Regions from separate parts of the Homo sapiens genome. Here region 1 is linked to region 2. Evidence: promoter capture Hi-C in 16 types of primary human blood cells and fetal thymus (Javierre and others, 2016). All regions are on one chromosome and are shown on one strand. The core of a region is centred on a gene start or on the middle of the fragment in contact, and the rest is flanking DNA. Distances in the headings are between cores, read along the strand shown.

Evidence for each region. The method cuts DNA at HindIII sites, captures the fragments that hold promoters and counts their contacts. A CHiCAGO score of 5 or more calls a contact.
Region 1: a contact is called between a fragment that was not itself captured here and the fragment with the promoter of COXFA4 in region 2, in 1 of 17 cell types (naive CD8 T cells). The highest score is 5.5, in naive CD8 T cells.

The regions. Positions count from the first base shown.
Region 1 is chr7:7,960,942-7,968,270 of GRCh38, forward strand. The region is part of intron 1 of GLCCI1-DT (GLCCI1 divergent transcript); the gene reads right to left. Among named protein-coding and RNA genes, the nearest start is that of GLCCI1-DT, 4.1 kb to the right of the region's middle. The HindIII fragment of the contact is 1,667 bases long and covers 5,183-6,849 here.
Region 2 is chr7:10,937,169-10,944,446 of GRCh38, forward strand. It overlaps COXFA4 (cytochrome c oxidase associated subunit FA4), which reads right to left and starts at 2,985. Exons shown (of 4, transcript NM_002489.4): 1 at 2,848-2,985; 2 at 1,640-1,728; 3 at 922-979. The coding sequence starts at 2,889. It overlaps LOC107986767 (a long non-coding RNA gene), which reads left to right and starts at 3,088. Exons shown (of 3, transcript XR_001745091.3): 1 at 3,088-3,563. RefSeq lists enhancers at 2,968-3,237, 3,122-4,042 and a silencer at 3,268-3,517. The HindIII fragment of the contact is 7,174 bases long and covers 1-4,764 here.

The DNA.
Region 1 (7,329 bases), core at 4,766-7,265, 3.0 Mb before region 2:
AAATTAAAGAAGGCAAGAGTAGAAGCTGGGAGGCAAGTTGAGTAGCTGCAGCAATAGATTAGGTAAGAGATGACAGTAGTTTGACTTAATGTAATAGCAGAAGAGATAGAAGTGGATGGATTAGACATCCATTTATTAAAAACAAATGAGAGGACTAGCTGCTGGGTTGGAGGGGGCGATGGTGGGGAGAAAAATGAGAAATCAAAAATATTGTCTAGGTTAATTGTTTGGAATAACTGGATAGATGGTGAAACCATTTGCTGAAATGGGGAAAAAATGGGGACAATTTTCTCAGAGGTTAAGAGAAAGCAGGAATATGGAAATTAAGATTTTAGGCCCATTTTAGACACATTCACTTCAAGTATTCATGGGTACTTGACGTATCAAGCAGGCAACTGAATATACAAATATGAATCTTGGAGGAAATGTCTGGGCTGGAGAGTTTCATTTAGGAGTTGCCAGCATTTTGCAGTATTTAAAGCCATGGGAATGTCTAAGATTACCAAGAAGGTGAGTTTATACAGAAGCAAGCAGAGAATAGAGGCCAATTTTTAGAGGGAACTAGAGGAGGAAGAACCTGAAGAGCACTGAGCAGTAGTGGTTAGAGAAGTAGGAAACAGAACAGGTGAGTACAGTGTCCCAGACTCCTATAGAAGAGATTTTTTTAAAGAACTGAGCCTGACCAGCAATGTGGAAAACTGCTAAAAGCTGGAAAAGGAAGAGGTCCCAGAAATATCCACTGGGTCTGGCAATATGGAGGCAGTTGATATTGATTAGCAGTTTTCAGTGGCATGAAGCCAGATTGGAATAGACTAAACAGGAAAATAGTAGATTAATAGGATTAAATAGGATATCAGAAGTAACATGTAGACATCTCTGTCAAGAACTGTTGCTGTGACAAGATCAAAGAATTTGGACCATAGATGGAAAGGGATGGCAGAAGAATCTTTGTTTTGCCTTTTAAAGTAAATGTTGGCATAACAGCATGTTCAAACATTACTGGGAAAAATCAATAATTTGATGATGAAGAAGATGGAGATAATAACTGCAGAAATGAAGTCCCTGAGAGACAAGAGGGTCAGAATTTAAATCAGAAGTGGAGGAGATGGCTTTCGATAGGAAAGGAGAACATGTATTACCTGTACAGAAAGGAAAAAGAAATTGATCCAAATGTTGAAAAAATCATAGATTTGATGGTGGGACTGTAGTGGAGATGTATCAGCAGGAATGGGTCTGGAGTTGGGGTGGTTTTGGAGGATTGAATAAAATGCATAAGAAACAAAATAATCATCATGGGAAAGTGAACTTCCTCTCAGACTCTCTCCCTCTTTCTGGTCACCTGGTGTGATTTCTCCTTCTTTCTGTAAGTCACTTCATTCTTTTCTCTCAGAAGGCAGGTTTCCTCTGCTTCTCTGTGCCCATGACAGAAAATGGCCACTCTATGCACAATTCTTTATAGAAAAATATTTTATTTCTTAATTTCAGATTCCCAAAGGAGAAAATTTAATTGGCCCAGCTTTAGTCAGTTGTTGAACTCGGGTGAAATCAACCATGGCCAGAGGGGCAAGGTTATTTGGGACATACATAGCTGTCAGGCCCAAACCCTCTATGTGTTGGGGGAGGATTGGTTCTCAGAGAAGAGGGATATTAGTTTGTCAGATGACCCACGAAGCAGCTACCAAACTTATTTTCTGAGACCCTGAACTCTATTTTAAGGAGTACTTCTGCCCTGCCTTCTTTTCTAGTATTGTTTTCTTTCATTTTTTTTTTGTTGTTGTTGTTTTGTTTTGTTTTTTACTTATCCCTCCATGACTCACGTATAAATTTTCACAATTTTGTTTTTCACCTTCTTTTCATTTCTATGCTTTTCTCCTTTGTGACCATGGCTTCAGCTACCATATGGACATGGATAGCCCCCAAATCTATATCTCTTGTCTTCTCAACTTCACTGTCGTTTAAAAGCTGTCTCTATTTGGATATTCTCTGGTTATTTTATTTATAGCTGAACTCATTATCTTTTCACCAAACCTCCTCCTTCCCTTAGCTGCCTTGTTTGTGTTAAAGCCATGACTATCTTCTCAGGCATCCAAGCTTGAATCTTCAGAACTGTCTGGCGTTCTCTTTTCAAAGTCCACATGATCATCAGCTGAGAAGGAGCATGACTTTCACCTTATTTCACTCTCCATGTCCTTTGTCATTCCCCTGACTCATGCCACCTAAACTAATGTGGAGTATCCTCTAAACCTTCTACATCGTCTTCCAACCATCAATCTCTAATTCAATGCTTTAAGCTATTCTTGCATTAATCTTCATAAAGCACAGCTCCACTCATGTTCTCTCCACCCATTCAAGAATCTTCAACAGCTCCTCACTGCATATCCAATAAAGTGCAAACCTTACCTGGCAACCAAGGGCCGTCATGACCCGTCATCAACAGGCTAAGACTTATCTTCCATTAACCATCAGCCAAAGGCAAACTGTTCAATCATCTTCTGCCTGGTTTTGTGCATTCCTACCTACATGACTTCTTCATACTCTTCTTCCTGAAGCCTTTTCTCAAGTGAGCTTTCCTTTCCCTCACTTCAATAATACTCTATTTACATCCTTTTTATATAAGGCAAATCTGTAGATATGGCTTTAGCTTTGTCGGCATATCTTTTTACTCCTCTTTACCAAAGTGTGAGAACAGGTAAACCCTACTGAGTGTAAAACAGTGTCTGACACTTCAAAAACATTCAATAAGTAACCTGACAAGGAGTTGCTATGGCTTGATGCTAGTATTGTTGCTACTAAGCCCGCATTTAGCCTTATTAGGGGCATTAATATGGACCTTTTCAATAAGATGCTGAGTAGGGCACTCTGAAAATTGTGTTTCAAAAAGTTTAAAATAATAAAAAGAAACTTCTCTAGTCCAGCACTGCTGATGAATTGACGGCACCCTAACAACAGTCCCTCAACACACTTACTCGTGTGGCAAAAAATAAGATTTGGCCACATAGGAAGAAACCTATGACATACTTTAATGACTTTCAACTCTCAATAAAAAAAAATAACATTATGATAATCAAACATATTCCCTTCATAGGACTACTATTGCTTTCAGGTATTATGAACACTCTATTTGGGACTAAAACAAATAGAATGTCACACCATAGAAAGAGAATATTTATAGTCCTTTGGCCCCCAAGTTTTACCTGTGAATGTGCTGACTTTATACAATATAGTCTTTTAGTTACATGGTGAGAGTATTATGCATCAGCTTAAGATGCATTGGAGGTGCCACTGGCATCATAGTTGGCAATTGGAGCTGCTATGGCGATGAAAATCTGAAAAACCAGTGGTTTTCATTACTGTTTTCTATTTTTGAGAAATAACTGTACACTTATTCTGGATGACCTTACCAGTTAAAAATAAAATATCTATTACTATTGCTTCTTCTGAACTTCTTTTAGAAACAAAGTTTTCATTATTTACATATAATAGTCTCGTCTACTTAATTATCATTTATTTTCAGTTCCTTTACACAGGTCTCTTGAGAATAGCTCTTCTTAATAGTGAGATAGAACTAAATACCAATCAGCAGATGTCACTCCTTAAGTGATCCTCTTCAGTTTTCTCTGTTTATTTCAGTTGTCCTTTTTTTTTCAATGCCTTTTCTCCATTGCCAATTCTATTTTCCTTCTTTTGGAGATAGGTTCCCACTCTGTCACCCAGGCTGTAGTGCAGTGGCACAATCATAGCTCACTGTAACCTCAAACTACTGGGCTCAAGCGGTCCTCTGCCTCAGCCTTGCCAGTAGTTGGGAATATGCCTGGCCCCCATTTTCCATTTTCATCCTCTGATGAGCCTCCAGGAGCCAGTAGGTCTAACAACCATAATGCAAGGTATTCTATCTTTTTGAATGGCAGCTTCAATACAAATATCTGTGTGGTTTACAGTAGCCACATCAGATATTTTTCTACTCTGCGACTAGGCTTTTGTAGCAGAGATACACCTGTTAGATTTTTTTTCCTGAGGAAAAGCACAAGTTTTAGTTCATAAGATAAACACTGGCTAAAATTTGCCACTCTTAACAACATTAAACAAATATTTATTGATCATCTACCATATACTAAGCACTGTTGTAGAGATTCAGCAGTTATAAAACTGATAAAAAGTCTTCACTTCATGGCTGTTCTATTCTAGACAGACAAAACAAAAAATAATTATAATATATTATGGTTTGGTTGCTGATAAGTACTCTGCAAAAAGAGTAGGATAAAGAGCAGGAAAAGCCGAGGGGTGCTTACAATTTTTAAAAAAGTGTTCAGGAAAGCTCTCATCATAAAGGTGGTGACATTTGAGTAAAGACCTGATGGAAATGAGTGAGCAAGCCATGTGGATATCTGGGCAAGAACCTTTCAGGCAGAGGGAACACCTAGTGCAAAGGTGCACGTAGGCTGTCACAAGCAGTAAGGAGTTTAATTTAAGCATCTGCCAGGGACAAAAATTCAGTCAAGGCTTTTTTGTTGTTGTTGCTATTAGGAATCAATCTACAAGAGAGTTTAATCAGCTTAAGATGAACATCAGTGCAGATCTGTTTAGTGTTCTCTCCCAGCCATGACCTCATTGCAAATACTGACAGCCTGGACTGCCTCTCAGATTTGGATGGGCCTTGGATGCTCAGCCAGGCAAACCCAGATGGAGCTAGAAGAGGAAGGTTTTGGTAGCTCTGTGGGCTCTGTGGCTTCTTCATCTTATGATCTCTCCACATAGGGCTGCATATAAATCGCATGTAACCAATGATTCCAAGTTTTAATTTAACCTAAAATGTAGTCTATTACCATATTTGCACTAAGAAGAAAGTAGAACAGAATTCTACCTCAGATTAGCTAATGGCAGATCCTCGTCCCACAGATAGCCATGGCATGGGGCTACTGATACAGAAGTATTTCTCATGCCACCAAATTGTGCCTTCAATTTTGTCTTCTTTACACAGGACAACATAGTAAGAGGTCATTGTTAACATTAAGTCTTATATAAGATTTTCAGAGATTGTTACACTTACATTCAACCAGTATGGAAAATCGGCACTAGGCCTAACTACCCCATAGCTAGCATAGTAGCATAACAACGCTCTTCTAGCCTAGCAATCCACATCTCATTCTAGGGGGTTTCCAATTTACTAAGAACATTTTCTTAAAGCTTCTATATATCCTTGGAGCTTACTTTGTCCTCAATAAGAATAAAATATTATCAAGAACTCAACAAATGGACATTTGAAAGCAGGCACTGAGTTTAATTTATTTTAGGCCACCTTTGATTTGTTTGAAGCCTGTATTCCTTAAATATGAAGATCAGTACTTACGTCGTGAGAATAAAGGTTTAAGAGACAACCAAGGTTTCTATAGCAAAGAGAAACGACTGAGCTTCTAGATTGGTCATAATGACTTACTAGTAACTGAAAATAGTATTTTAAGATCATACTAATTCTCTGTTTCTCTGTGTGAGTTATTTAGATTTGCTTTAGATGTCTAAGTCAGCTGTGGTAGATTTGAACAAACACAGAAAGTCCTTAAAATATGACTAGGTATGTTGCTTTAGATCCAAATTAGGTATTGATCATTGTGATTGTGACCTAGAATAAATTTAGAATTATTGTAACCTAATGTGTTGAAGTTGTTCCATAAATATATTTAGGAGTAGCTAGAGATGACATTTCTATAATGCAACTATGCTGTAATCAAAGCAACAACTCAGAAATTTACCAGCATGTAAAAGAAAAATCTTAACTTTTTTTCTTCTTCTTCTTCTTTTTTTTTTTTTTTTTTTTTTTTTTGAGACAGGGTGTCATTCTGTCACCCAAGCTGGAGTGCAGTGGTGTGATCAAGGCTCACTGCAGCCTTGATCTCCCGGCCTTTTGGGCTCAGGTGATCCTCCCACCTCAGCCTCCCTAACCGCGTCCAGCTAGTATTTTTACATTTTTAGTAGAGATGGGGTTTTGCCATGTTGCCCAGACTGGTTTCAAAATCCTGAGCTCAAGTGATCCGTCTGCCTTGGCCTCCCAAGGAGCTGGGATTACAGGCGTGAGCCACCGCACCTAGCCAGCTTTACATATTTTTAATCTGTCAGATTTTTTGTTCTTGCTATTCTGAGAAAAGTCACTGAAAAGAAATCATTTATCATTCTTTTTACACACAAAATAATGCAGTTTTTAAATTAATGAGATAGGCCATTTATATAAAATTTGAAAGAGTAAAGTTTTTATTCATAATTAAAATATATGTTATTCTGGAAAACAAAAAAAAAGTAGTGGTCTGTCTTCATTTGTAAAATTTCCTTTGAACTGATGGGAACTTATCTCACAGATGAGATTTGTGGGCCATTGTGAATACTCTACAGATTATGTACCCCACAGCTTTGAGCTGCCAGGTACTATAGCAGAGTGCTTCCTCAGACTCTTGAGCCAGTCTGTCTGGGTGAAATTTTTAGCTCCCCATATACTAACTATGTGATCTCAGGCAAGACAGCTTATTTATGCCACAACTGAGACCACAGTAAGGATAATAATAGTATCTACCTTGTGGATTATATGAGGACTGAATGAATTAACACACATAATGTTCTTAGAATAGCGGCTGGCACATGGTGAATAAATGTTAGCTCTTATTATAATATGTGGTAAACTGAGGAACTATCACTAGTTTTACTTGGATGAAGTACTGCATGAAATTTTTGTATTTTTATTGAGTTTCATCAATTTTTTTACTGAACCTAGTATGCTTTCTCGTCTGAACACACAAGGAAGAAAAGAAGGATGGCTCCTGTACGTGAAAGTGACCCCTGCATATAGTGCCTGAAATCAGAGGAAGCTTGTCAGTGTGGGCAGACACCACGAGCAGACCAATTTGACATTGTGCTTCTCTTTTAACCTCTTGAAAATTAATGAAAGTTATCTGATGAAGATCCTTACATTAATTGCTCCCGATTAAGGTTTAAAACCTTGGTTTACTGTGGGGTAAATTTATGTTTTTGATAGTCATCCAAAATCTTTGTACGCTTTCAGTTTCATTACAGAATAAAAAACAAATTTACCACAATGGATTATTACATTACATCTGGTATTTATTCCTCCCAAGAAGCTATCTGCTTCGGAAAAGCCAGGGGCGCCCTTCATTAATATATCTAACTGATGGTGTAATGACATAAAATTCCTTGTTGACCCCTGCTATTCAGTGTTATTGTCTTGGAACATAGAACTTGATAATCTCTTTTCACTGCATAACTACAAATGTTAGGCTGTAAGAGTATTTTACTTTGTTCAGTGCAGGTTCCAGACATTTCTCCTGA
Region 2 (7,278 bases), core at 1,735-4,234:
TTTTGATGAAATGGCTTGATATTATGGAAAGTGCATTGAGTGAGTTATAAACTTTAAACACGTCAACTGTATGGTATGTGAATGGTATGGTATCTTAATGAAGCCGCCCTTGGTTTTTTGGGTTTTTTTTTTTAGACAGAGTCTGGTTCTGTTGCCCAGGTTGGAGTGCAGTGGCGTGATCCTGGCTCACTGCAACCTCCACCTCCCAGGTTCAAGCGATTCTCCTGCCTCAGCCTCCCGAGCAGCTGTGATTACAGGTACCTACTACCATGCCCAGCTAATTTTTGTATTTTTAGTAGAGATGGGGTTTCACCATATTGGCCAGGCTGATTTCCAGCTCCTGATCTCAAGTGATCTGCCCGCCTCAGCCTCCCAAAGTGCTGGGATTACAGGCATAAGCCACCGTGCCTGGCCTGCCCTTGGTTTTGATGCTGTGCAGGGTCTTTGTATGCAAAATTTTTTACACATAAGGAAGGTTATGTTTGGGGAATCAATAAATGGTCTCAGTCCATGAAATCATTCTCTAGAAGAGTAGTTCCACAGACTACTCTAAATTCTCATGCCCCACAAAAGACCAGCTGAATCAGAATCTCTGGGGATAAGGCTGAAGAATCTGTGTTTCAACAAGCTCTATGTATAATGAAGTTTGAGAACACTGTGTTAGACTACCTAAGAACTAAGAAAATGGTAAATGATAGCTATACTATTTTTCCTTCTTTTCTTATACTAGCAATTAAATACCTAGCAAAAAATATTTATTAGAGCAATATACCATTTTCATTTCACAGAACTACCTAACAGCTCTTTAAAGTTCAATATAATGGAATTTTACTCGTATATCCAGTTTCAAGAAAACCCACCCCATGACAAAACTTATTACAACACAATTTCTAACAACTTTAAAACAATTTTGTAGTTTACCTTGTATTGATCATTGGGACCCAGTTTGTTCCAGGGCTCTGGGTTATTTCTGTCCCAACTAAAAGAAATAAAACATTACGACTGTTATAATAATAAAGCACTATTTAGTGTTTTGTACTAAGAATACATTTTTGAACAGATCAATCTTATTTTCTATTAGATGAGGTATGGTGTTATTTCATTATGAAGTTGAAACAGGTAGAGGATCTATAATAAGCAATCTCATGTAATCAATTAGAAAAAAGGTAGAACACAGAATCCCTATCACAAGATACTTTTTATCTGGCTTTCACAAAACCTTTCCATTTAATTAATAAAGTGATATACAGAAAAGTGCATAGAATAATGATGAATCAATCTTTTGATTGTCTATTGTTTTTCAACTGCAAATGTGCAAGTGAAGGCAAAAAACATTTACATGTGCCGAGAACCATGATTATTTTATAAAAACAATTATTTTTATGTCAATCCTCAAAACATTACAAGATTTGGTATTAGCAGTTCTACTTTACCAAAGAGAAAACGAGACTCAGAGAAATTAGATAATTTCATGAACCAAAAAAAGTAAATGAAAACAGCAGATTTGAGATCTGAACTTATTGTATGACTGTAAATGTAACATTCTTTCTACTACCCTAATGTTATCGCCCTACAGAGACTGTGGCTCCTAAACTGCCTTGATCAGCTATCAAAGTTTTAAACATTTTTAAGTACTTACCAAACATCTGGATTGAACAATGCCAGACGCAAGAGATACAGTGTTGCTCCAGTAGCTCCAGTTCCAATAAATACAAAGAGGGGGATCAACTAAACCAAACACAAAATAGAATAACCATCTTCAAATACTTAAAACACTGGCCAACGAGAGATTACAGTAGTTTCTGCACATTGATTTCCAAGTCTCAAACTGTTATTGGACTGTTTTGTCTTAAAATTTAAATAAAGTAGATCTTACATTGAGGTAAGATTTCTTATAACTGTGTTCTAAAGAAAGAAATGGAATTTGGAAAGGATGTTAAGATGACTCTGGTTTAAGTGTCTTACTTTTTAATGTGGAGCAAATTATAGGTACATTTTTAAATTTCCAAGAAAATGTATCGAGTCTTCTTCACCTCTCTAATATTTACATGTCATTCCCATTAAATTTTCTGGCTTCCTTTATCCTGGGGCTTGAAAAACAAATTCTTTGCAAATTATTTAAGGGTGCCTCTATAAAGATGTATGAAAAATAGAATCTGAATAAGTAAACGTATCTATTACAAATACTGGCTTTAAGCATTATCTCTGAAAACGTAATGCTACCAATGCTTGCTGCGTATTTAGGGAACCGGATTTAAGACAGATTAAAGATTGCATAGACTTTTAGCTCTACAGCACATTGATGTGCTGAGGAAAAATGAGATGCCAAAGAACTTAACTGCAATTTCCACACTTCGAAATTTTCCCAAAAGCAACGACGTCCAGACAAAGTGAGGATTCCAAGATCACGGACCCCTCTTATTTACCAAAAGGCCTGGTGGTGCAATGCGGCGAATACAAGAACCTCCAGAGATGGTATAACACATAGGGAACCTGACCTATGCTAGTCTCTGACCCACACAGCGCACATCTATCCCTCCTGGACCGCACAACCTGCAAAAGAGAGCGGCCACCAGACTGTTCCAATATTCACTAACTAGAAAAAACTAGGTTTTTTTTCCGAGCAGTGTCCGTCTCCTTCCTCCTGTCAGACAAAACCCCACAATGCATGGCGTAGAGGGTCACAGAGGCCTGGGACAACTAAGATGACAAACACTAGGCGAGGCAGGGTCTGGTCTGACGGACGGTAAGTGGCTGTAAATGAGGACGTTCCCAGGGAACAGAAAGAGGCGCACCCCGACGCAAGAAGGACAAGGGAAAACATTAGGAGAGCGGTCACGAACTTACGCTCGGATGCTTCTTGGCCTGACCGATGATCTGGCGGAGCATGTTTGCGGCAGAGGTCTCCGACTGGAAAGGAGAGAACCGACCTAGCCACCAGGCCCTAAGCTAAAAATTATCTGCAATGAGACACTACGGACTTCCAAAGTCACCCAGGACCTCCTACCTGAAGGACCCTTGGCTGGGAGGGCAGCTTGCGGCAGGAGGGCCCGGATGCGACTGTCTTTAATAGTGCCTGCTTAGATCTAACCCCTCATATGTTCGTCCTGACCTGGTCGGACCATCATCATTCCACTTCATAGTGAAATGCCTTCATTGCCGTGCCATGCATATTTCTGAGGGGAATTTTTTTGGTCGAAACGAGGACTCTTCGATTGACCAGACAGGCACTTTCCAAGGGTGCCACGTACTGAGGAATGCGGTCGGAGCGTGGGCGCACGGGCCGCGCGCTCCGTGAGTAGGGGGCCTCTCCCGCGGCGCCTGAGAGCCGGGTCCGCGCGCAGAGGCCCTGGGGGCGCGCGTGCCGGGTGCGCGCTGGCCAGCTGTGACTGCCGCTGAGGGAGCTGCGCGGCGCCTCTGGGAGCCGAGCGCCGGGCGCCTGGAGGGCAGGTCGGGCCTCTTGCCGCTAAGGTCAGCGGCTGCGGTTTGAGAAGACTGCAGCTGCTTCCTGTGTTACGCTGTCGCAGACAAGCAGAAGTTAAAAACTAGTAAATGACTTAAAGGTGATAATAGTCCTGGCAGTGTATTTCTGAACCCTCAGATCCTGGCCCTCGGTTGAAAGTTCGTCGCCACAAAGACCTTTCCAACACGCCACTATCCCCCGTCCCTGGTCCCAAATTGCATCTTTAAAATGTGTTTTCAATGGTCGTGTAGCTACAGATAATCTTTCCCACTACCCCAGTCGAATTTTCATTTGTCTTTTGTTTTGTTTTCTTCGTTGTTTTTTTTACCCGAAGGACTTCCATAGGACAGGCTTTGCGGGGGAGGGTGGGGGGATTGGGATAAAATGTACACTCTGAACCCTCTCCAATCTCATACGTAGCTTAAAGCATTAATCAAATGATCAAGCAAGTATTAATAATTGGGACTAGAAATCATAGGAGAAGGCTCCACCGGAAGTTACACTAGCTCTGAAGGAGGAGCGGACATTAACCAGGTGAAAACGGAGGATGCAGGTGTACAGGGCGGAGGTAATAACACGTGAAGGTCTGAAGCTATTGAAAACCCGAGGGAGCTGTATGAGGTCTAGTGTGGCTGGAAAGTAAAAGGGAGAGCAAGGTGGGGATCAGATCTGCTGGGCCAATAACCGCTTAAACATCATGGGTTTTATGTTGAGAGCTTGGGAAGGTTGTGTTTTTAAATGATTGCTTTGTGAATAATTGATTAGAAGGGATAAGCGTGAGAGGGGAAAGACCTATCAAGGGGCCATTGCAATAGTCCATAATCTGTGTGACAGATAATGGTAGCTTGAACTAGTGTAGAGAATGTAATGATGAGAAAAAAAGATTCCAGAGATGTTTAGAAGGTGGCACCAACAGGACTTGGTGGTTGGCTCTCCAGGAGTGAGGAGAGAGAAGTTAAGAATAATTTCAGAGGTTCAGTTTTGAGCAGCTCTGTGGTTGTTGATGCCAGTTATTGAAATAAGCCGTAGAGAATGATGTATAAGTGCCTATGTAAAATTCAAGTGGATCTCTATGGGGCAGAAGAGAACTACACTATAAGTATAAATTTAGGACTCAGTTTACTGATAAGAAATGAACCCATGTGACTGAATGAGATTACTTAGGGAGAGAAAGTTGACTGAGAATTTAGACAGAGGACACAGAGCCGAGGAATTCCAACATGCAATGCTTAGAAGAGGAGGTATGGCCAGTAGGTAGGAAAAAAAAAATAGATGGTAACTGTTAAGGTGATATGTCATGAAGCTTATCAAGACTGGTGTCTTTTTTCATTCATTCAGCAAATCTTTCTTAAGTACCTACTCTCCACTAGGCACTGTTCTAGCCACTAGAGTTATAGCAGTGAACAAGAAAATTACTCTGCGTTGCTAATGGAGCTTACATACTAATTGAGGAAGACAAACAATAAACAAATGAGATAATTTTTAGACAGTGACAAGCCAATAAAATAGAATAATGAGACAGACAATGACATGGAAGAGGTGGAGGAGAGGAGGTTACTTTAAGTAGACAGGACAGGGAAGGTCCGTCTGAGGATTTCTGAGTTGAAACCTAAATGAAAGGAAGGAAGTAACCTGGTAAAGATGTGGGAAGAACACTAAATTAGTAAGAGAAATGGCTTTGAGATTTAAAAAAAGAAGAAGAAGAAGAAGAGTGCTTAAAAAAGTATCAGTGTGGTTGATCCATAACTAAGGAGAAAAAGAGGAAAATGAGAGCAAACAGTGGAGTCTGTAAAGTCTATGTCCAATTCTCTGACATGGACCTTATAGGCTATGGTAAGGAGCATGGCTGTGTTAAAAGATCAGCACAAAAACATGGAAAATACTTAGAAGTGAACAAAGAAACCTTAGTGAGTGTAGATAGGCTTTCAGCAAATAAATTAGAAGAAGGGAGACCTCTTCTTCCAATATTTTATTTTGAATAATAACAGTTGATAATAAGTAGGTATGTAGAAATGCCATTATTAAAAAGAAACTAAAATCCAGTGACTTAACTTTTTTTCTTTTTGAGACGGAGTCTCACTCTGTCGCCCAGGCTGGAATGCAGTGGCGCGAGACTTAACTTTTTTTTGTCATTGACCTAGCTTCTAGAGACAACAATAATATAGATAGCTAAGTGATGCCTTTATTTATTTATTTTTGTTTGTTTATTTTTTTGAGATGGAGTCTCGCTCTGTGGCCCAACCTGGAGTGTGGTGGCACGATCTCGGCTCACTGCAACCTCTGCCTCCCAGGTTCAAGCGATTCTCCTGCCTCAGCCTCCCCAATAGCTGGGACTACAGGCACATGCCACCACACCCGGTTAATTTTTTGTATTTTTAGTAGAGATGGGGTTTCACCGTGTTAGTCAGGATGGTCTCGATCTCTGGACCTCGTGATCTGCCCACCTCGGCCTCCCAAAGTGCTGGGATTACAGGTGTGAGCCACCGCACCTGGCCTAAGTGATGCCTTTAGAGATGTTAACAAAGCAAGGTTACAAATATAAATTTCATTAAATATTAACCAAAATGTCAAATTGTGAAAGTTTAAATTTTGCACATTGAAGTTAGTGGAAAGAGTATGTCACCTATATTTTAAGTAGGGACAGGTAGAGGTGACAGTCTGGAAAAAGAAGCCATGGTAGAAGAAACAACGCAAAATTCCTGAGCTGCAGAAGTGGAATTGGTATGTGTTGTAGATTAAATTGTATGCAGATAGCTTCAGCCTCTACCTAGAAGGAGATATCACTTGCCTCATGAGGGTCAAGCTTAATAAGAAGACTTGCCTTATTAGCAAATGCGAAGTGAGAAGTAGCACATGCCATGCACAAGCAAAAACTTTAAGAGCCAACATGTGCCATGTTGTCAGTTTTCCCTCTGCCACAAGACTAGCAATATTCTAGATACAGCCTGCTTATCAGCTTAGGTGTCAGGGTAAGAACTACCTGGAACAGAGCCACTACTGACCTGCAGTGTACATGTATTAAGAATGAGAAATAGGCTGGGCCTGGTGGCTCATGCCCGTAATCCCAGCACTTTGGGAGGCTGAGGCAGGTGGATCACCTGAAGTCAGGAGTGCAAGACCAGCCTGGCCAACATGGTAAAACTCTGTCTCAACTAAAAATACAGAAAAATTAGCTGGGCATGGTGGCGGGTGTCTGTAATCCTAGCTACTTCGGGAGGCTGAGGCAGGAGGATCGCTTGAACCGGGAGGCGGAGGTTGCAGTGAGCCGAGATCATGCCGTTGCACTCCAGCCTGGGCAACAAGAGTGAAACTCTGTCTTGAAAAAAAAAATAGAGAAATAAACCTCTATTGTTGCAAGTGACTGGATTTGGGAGTAGTTTCTTAATGTGGCATAACCTAGCCTACCCTGACAAGTAAATAATTTGACACTGAAAGTGTGGTGACATGTTACCATAATAAAAATCCTAAAATATGTGGCATAGGATTTAGGTCCTGGCAGTAGGTGACAAAGTAACTGTTACCAGGGACTAGAAGGATGGCTATCTATATGTAATGCAGTATTGGAACATTTGGTGAAACACTTATTTCAATTAATTGGAAGGCAGTTAATGTTCCCAGTGAGCTGGTAGCTTTCAGTGAAACAGCAGGCAAAGAGTATATTAGCATGTATCAGTTACTATTGGCTACAGTTGACAAGGTAGTACAATAAAGATATGGACTCAAAATAATTGGTCAGTTTGCAAACTGTAATGACAGGGAGTAAAACATTCAGAAATTTAGAGACATGCAGAGTTGGAAGATCTGATTGATTCTCA